2 separate regions of the Homo sapiens genome follow, and region 2 is linked to region 1. Evidence: promoter capture Hi-C in human tissues and cell types (Jung and others, 2019). All regions are on one chromosome and are shown on one strand. Each heading gives the region's core, a stretch centred on a gene start or on the middle of the fragment in contact. The rest is flanking DNA. Distances are from core to core; before and after follow the strand shown. Region 1 holds the start of FES (FES proto-oncogene, tyrosine kinase). Region 2 has its middle 13 kb from the start of IQGAP1.

Evidence for each region. Contacts are between HindIII fragments. The study calls those that stand out against the background at their distance.
Region 2: a fragment that was not itself captured here is called in contact with the fragment with the promoter of FES in region 1 in 2 of the 25 tissues and cell types used here (dorsolateral prefrontal cortex and stomach).

The regions. Positions count from the first base shown.
Region 1 is chr15:90,882,767-90,885,994 of GRCh38, reverse strand. FES (FES proto-oncogene, tyrosine kinase) reads right to left here and starts at 1,491. Exons shown (of 19, transcript NM_002005.4): 1 at 1,451-1,491; 2 at 737-958; 3 at 410-583. The coding sequence starts at 949. It overlaps FURIN (furin, paired basic amino acid cleaving enzyme), which reads right to left. Exons shown (of 16, transcript NM_002569.4): 16 at 2,538-3,228. RefSeq lists enhancers at 346-775, 2,313-2,442 and a silencer at 1,406-1,915. The HindIII fragment of the contact is 25,407 bases long and covers 1-3,228 here.
Region 2 is chr15:90,373,873-90,377,325 of GRCh38, reverse strand. No RefSeq gene overlaps it. Among named protein-coding and RNA genes, the nearest start is that of IQGAP1, 13 kb to the left of the region's middle. The HindIII fragment of the contact is 3,327 bases long and covers 424-3,453 here.

The DNA.
Region 1 (3,228 bases), core at 242-2,741:
GGGGGGCCATGCTGCTGCCCAGTCTCTGGGGCCCTGAGAGGAGGCTGCCTAGGTCGAAGGCAAACAGACTGACCCTCATTCCTCTCCCTGACTCTCAGAACCCAGAGCCAGATGGCACAGTGTGGAGGCGAGTACCGATTCTGAGCTTCTCCCAGGCACGTGACCGGTCACTCATCCTTACACTCCCAGCACTTTGCCCAGGCACAGAAAAAGCACAGAGAGGCCTTGCTGCAAGCCAGCTCAACGTAGGGGAAGGAAGAGAGGAAGCTGCATCAAGGTTAGAGCAAGCCAGGCCTGCGGTCAGGGACTTACACTTCCCCAGTGAATCCAGGGCCTCTTGTGCAAAACAACCCCTTCGAGGCTCAAAATTTAGACAGAAATGACCGAAGCCCCAGTGCTGCCCGCTCACCTTGGTGAGCTCCTGCTGCAGCTGCTGCCACTGCTCGCTGTAGGTCTTGCGAAGCTGCTGCCGTTCCCGGATGAGCAGGCTCAGCTTGCTCAGGGGCCCTGAGTTCAGATCCTCTGCGTGCTGCCGCAGCAAGCGGCTCAGGCCCTCAGTTTGGCTGGTGATCTCAGCCCAGGACTATACAGCACAGATGGGGGAGGCAGGGAGGGGGGCACAATGGCTCCCAAGCATTGGCCTGCCAGATCTCCAGCCACTGCCCCAGAGGGCCCCCAGGAGAGGAAGGAGAAGGCAGATACAGCCAGCACCCACCAGAGTCCCATAGAGACCCACCTGACTGATGGGGCTGTCAGGGCTGATGGCCCGGCTCTGGCCCCCACTGTCCTGCAGGGACATGTGGTGAAGCAGTCCTGCATACTCCCTGTCACTCTTGACCCGCTGGGCCATCCACTTTCTCATGCCCTCCAGTAGACGAAGCTCGGCCTCCTGCATTTGCTGCAGGACCCCGTGGCCCTGGGGGCTGCACAGCTCGGAAGAGAAGCCCATAGTGCTGTTCTGGGGACAGAAAAGGGGCCATCCCTGGAGGCAAGGCAGCAGCTGGAGACGGAGGCATGGGACGAGGAGACTGGGGACTGTAGGGTCAGGATGGACTGCAGACGGGGAGGAGGTGGGGTCCTGCCTCGCTCACACGCAGCCATGGGTACCCAGCAGCAGCCTGGCCTGGGGACTGGCCCTCATTGCTTCCTTAGCGTCAGGGTCTCCTCCGCACGTTCGGGAACAGGAGCCAACCTGGAGCCTCCCTCCCCAGGCCCTTCCACCCACCACCCCTTACAGGGACACCCTTGCCCAGGTCCTCGACAGGCCAAGCCTGCCCCAGCTGAAGCCTCAGGCGCCCACAGCCTGAGCCCTGCCCCTGCGGCCATCCCCGCCCTTCCGCGGCCCCTACCCCCACCTGGGTGGGTCTCTGGCCCTCGGAACGCCTGCTCTGCCCCTGCCTGCCGCGCCCCCAGCTCCCACCGCTCCTCCAGGCCCCGGGGCTAGAGGTACCCGCACGGGCAGCTGCTCCTGGGACGGCCTCGGACCGACTCAGGCCCGGTGCGGACCCCGGCCAGTTCCTGATTCCGCGCTTCCTCCTCCCGCGGTTTCAGTTGGCCCAGGCCCCGGGGCGGGCCTGTGGAGGGGAAGGGGCGGGCGGGACCGGCCCGACCGCCCCGACGCCTGCCAGCCCCCCTGCTCCGCGCTGGGCCGCAGCCTCTAGCCGGCCGCACGGCCACGGAAACGGAAGGGAGGAGGGGGCCGGGAAAGAATGGCCCAGCCAAGAGCCGCCCGCGCCCCGCAGGCCCCAGGGCCCGGCAGCGCCCCGGGAACACCGGGAAGGGGCGCAAGGTGGGGGTCAGGAGGGGGAGCCCAGGGCGAGGCCCCAGGCAGATGCTGGGCCCAGGGAAGCCCAGGGTGTCCGCGGGTACTGAGGGGAGGCGCGCAGTCCTAGCACCAGGCCAGGGCCACCGCAGAAGAGAAAGAGGGAACCCTGGTCCCAGCCCTCCCCACCTCACGGAATTCCCTAAGGAGAGGCTCAGGCGCCAGCTTCCATTTGAATAAAATTTCCAAGTAAATATCCCGAACAGAGACTGCTTCTCGGATACAGATCCTAGTGGTTTTGTCCCCATCCTCCTACCCCCAGGCAGGGGCTTCCTGTCCCAAGGGAGACCTGGGGAAATCAAGGGGCAGGGGTTGGGGAGCGGACAGGCGTGGAGTTTTCCATTTGGGACTCAGGCTCCCCACAAGAAGTCATCTTGATTCAGTCAGGCCTCCCTCCACCTTAGGCCTCAGCCCTATAGCCTGTGGCGACCAGATCACTTCAGCCCAGGAAGACACAATAGGCCCAGTTCTTCACACTGCTGGAAACCAGGACTTTGGGAGTTTAGTGCTCAGCTCCTGAGGACCAGGGGTCACCAGCCCCACCCCAGGGGCACCAGCTCCTCCACTAGGGGCTGGCGCATCCTCCCGCCCCTTGGAGGACTTTGGCCTTCTGACTTGGGCCCACATCCAGGCAGGCAGGCCACTGTGTAGGCCTAACTGGCCCCCTATCCTCAGCTGCGATGCAGGAGCAACGGTACCACACTGGAGACTGGGCCTGGTTTGCATAGTCTGCACGTTTAATCACTTTAAAACCTCTAACATTATCTCATGTCCATTAAATAGAACCAGCAATGCTGGGCCTGTTTAAATTACAAGAAAAAAATCACTGTGCACCAACCCAGCATCTTACAAAACCAGCCGGGCTGGCCACGAGGGCAGGGGGATGGGAGAGGAGGGGGCACCCCTGGGCAGATGGCTGGGTACCAGGAATGGCTAGGGTAGAAAAGAAAAGGGGACTCCCAGATGGGAGGGGACTGATTGTCCTAATGGGAGGGGTGCAAAAGGCACGTCAGAAGAGGAGGTTTGAGGGGGGCATGACAGGTCAGTGCTTTCTCCACCAGGGCACAGTGTTGGGGGGGCTCAGTGCCACCACCTGCCCACCTCTGGCACTTGGAGAGCCAGTGACCTATGAACCCCCGGCATGGCGAGCCCCACTTGAAACACAGATGTCAGCCTGCCCCTCCCACTGGGACCCCCTTTCCTTGAGCCCGCCTGGCTGGCCCGCCTCTTCAGGACTTGGGGCTCAACTATTCCTCACTCCTCAGCAACATGCTGCAGCCCCCACACCTCAGGGCCAGGGCAGCCAGGGAGGAGCAGGGCGGACGGTGGGTGTGAGAACGTGGGTAGTCCAGCTGCTACCCCCATTAAAAATACAAAAACAAATCATCAGCATCTAAAGTGAAATA
Region 2 (3,453 bases), core at 838-3,337, 510 kb after region 1:
TCTCTCTGATTCTAAAATCTCTGTCAAATCATCATTCAACACCGTGTCCTAGTTTATGGACAGCATATCAATGAGCAGGTGTTCATTCACTTCTTAAATATGCCTAATTGCCTCTGAAAACCTTTCAACAAACATTTGTGAACACCCATATCCTAGTCTAGGAACAATATATAAAAACAGAGACCCGGAAGTTGTGGGAGGAAGCCAGGAAGTCAGCCCAGAATGGAGTTGGGGCATTGGTTTCCGGGCTGGGGTTAGAATAGGCCACAAGGTTCTACTGCAGTCTCAAGGCCTAAGACAAAGGACAAATCTAAAGATTCATCAAGAGACAGAAATCGCTCATAGGAATCATGAGCTCATTGGAGAGTCAGACCAAAGTATGGGGAAAGAGCGGTAAACGAGGCAGGGAACACCAGACCCCATCACAGGGTCAGAACCTGAGACAAGCCTGCATGGCAGGGTTCCCCACGGCAAACCCCTGAAACATCTACAGGGATGACAATGGGTTACTAGTAACAACAGCTAACTCATAATGAGTGCCCCTTAGGTCCAGTTGTAAGTATTTGATCTCATTTGACCTTCACAACAATCCTATGAGGTAGGAACTACTAGAATTTTCAATTTAAGGATAAGGAAACTGAAATCAGAAAGGTTAACAATGTTCCAAAAATTACACAACTAGTTAGTGACATACTCAGTATTCAAACTGCATTGGACCCAAAGCCCACATATGTGAACGCTATTCTCCACTAATGCACATGAGGACCTAGAGGGCTGAGTTGAAAGATTTGTGAGGCCACATCCACCAAAGAATGTGATGGACATAGACCTGACAAAGCACTCTCAAGAAGCTTTCAGACATCAAGATAGAGATCTAGGAGCACAGATAAGAGAACAGTTGATGGGTCGGGTGCGGTGGCTCAGGCCTGTAATCCTAACACTTTGGGAGGCTGAGGCGGGCAGATCATGAGGTCAAGAGATGGAGACCATCCTCGTTAACACGGTGAAACCCGTCTCTATTAAAAATACACAAATTAGCTGCGCCAGGTAGCAGGTGCCTGTAGTCCCAGCTACTCGGGAGGCTGAGGCGGGAGAATGGCGTGAACCCAGGAGGCGGAGGTTGCAGTGAGCCGAGATCACGCCACTGCACTCCAGCCTGAACGACAGAGCGAGACTCCGTCTCAAAAAAAAAAAAAAAAAAAGACTTTGCAGGGAAGACCTATGAAAAGGGTGAGAAAGGGCACAAGTTGCAGTAACAGTGTAAACAAAGCCAGAAAAATTGCAAAGGTGTGTGCGTGTGTGATCATGCCCTGATTCTTGTATAGTTAATTTCACCCCAGGCTTCTCAAACAGCACAGCCACATGATGTTTCAAAAAGTCCAAGTGGAACCTCTTCGGAAAGATGCCCCACCATTGGCAGAGGCTGTGACCTTTTTCCTCAGGTACCAGGGGTTGCTACATGGGGAATGGGTGGACACTGGGCTGTAAATACTGCGTCTGGAATTTATTCCTTTTGGTGGATGCTTGGTCTCGCTGACTTCAAGAATGAAACCACGGACCTTCACGGTGAGCGTTACAGCTCTTAAAGATGGTGTGTCCGGAGTTTGTTCCTTCAGATGTTCAGATGTGTCCGGAGTTTCTTCCTTCCAGTGGGTTCGTGGTCTCACTGACTTCAGGAGTGAAGCCGCACACCTTCGCAGTGAGTGTTACAGCTCTTAAAGGTGGCTCATCTGGAGTTGTTTGTTCCTCCCGGTGGGTTTGTGGTCTTGCTGACTTCAGGAATGCAGCCGCAGACCCTCGCATTGAGTGTTACAGCTCATGAAGGTAGTGCGGACCCAGAGTGAGCAGCAGCAAGATTTACTGTGAAGAGCGAAAGAACAAAGCTTCCACAGCATGGAAGGGCACCCGAGTGGGTTGCCTGCTGCTGGCTTCGCTGGCCAGCTTTTATTGCCTTATTTGGCCCCACCCACATCCTGCTGATTAGTCCATTTTACAGAGTGCTGACTGGTGCGTTTACAGTCCTTTAGCTAGACACAGAGTGCTGATTGGTGCGTTTTTACAGTGTGCTGATTGGTGCATTTACAATACTTTAGCTAGACAAAGAGTGCTGATTGGTGCGTTTTTAATCCTCTAGCTAGACAGAAAAGTTTTCCAAGTCCCCACCCAACCTAGAAGCCCAGCTGGCTTCACCTCTCAATACCTTCTTTCTTTATCACTCCTCATTTTCTTTACGACTGATATTTGGGTGGTAGAAAGCTCACATCCTTTATGGAAAGTCACCTTCCTATAAGCTCCTCTGGAAGTAGAGTACAGAAAAATCTAACTAGGCCTCTCATGAGATTACAAGCAATGAGTGACATTTCTACTACAACTTATAATGCCAGTGCAGGGCAAGGTAGAAACTGCAAGACTTCAGTCACTATTCAGTTATGTAAAGACTAACACGTGGGCACAGTGGCTCACGCCTGTAATCCTAGCACTTTGGGAGGCCATGGCAGGAAGATTGCTTGAGCCCAGCAGTTGGATACCAGCCTGTGCAACATGGTGAGACACCATCTCTACAAAAAATAAAAAAAATTAGCTGGGCGTAGTGGTGCATGCCTGTGGCCCCAGCTACTGGGGAGGCTGAGGTGGGAAGATCACTTGAGCTGGGGAGGTCGAGGCTGCAGGGAGCTGTGATTGCACCACTGCGTTCCAGCCTGGGAGACAGAGCAAGAACTTGTCTCAAAAGAAAAAAAAAAAAAGAGCTAGACAAGGTGGCTCACTCCTGTAATCTCAGCACTTTGAGAGGCCGAGGCAGGTGGAACCCCTCAGGTCAGGAGGTCCAAACCAGTGTAGCCAACATGGTGAAATTCTGTCTCTACTAAAAATACAAAAATTAGCCAGGCATGGTGGCATGCATCTGTAGTCCCAGCTATTTGGGAAGCTGAGGCAGGAGAATTGCTTGAACCCGGGAGGCGGAGCTTGCAGCGAGCCAAGATCACACCACTGCACTCCAGCCTGGGCAACAGAGCAAGACTCTGTCTCAAAAAAATTTTAAAAAAATTAAAAAAAAAGACTAACACAGGAAAAAACGGGAGAGACATATAGCTATGGAGCAATGTTCCTCCCTAAGACTCCAGTCAGTTCATTGACACATGTCCAGTTTGAATTTTTTTTTTTTTTTAAAAGAAAGGCCAGGTTGTACCACCTTCCTTACAATACAGAAACAAGCTCTCTCAACCACAAGCATCAATGACATTATCCAGTTTCGTGGAATCACTGGCAATGCCCCCATGTATCAGAATGTCTTCTGTGGCTGAATTTACATGTGAAGGTTAATTAAACAAAGCTTTATTTCAGTATCATGGCTTGTTTGCATTTACTCATTCATGTACCAACTGGCATAAGTGATACCTCCTCCAGGGAGCCTTCCTTGACTCTCAAGATAGCCCTTCTCTGGCTGACATATAC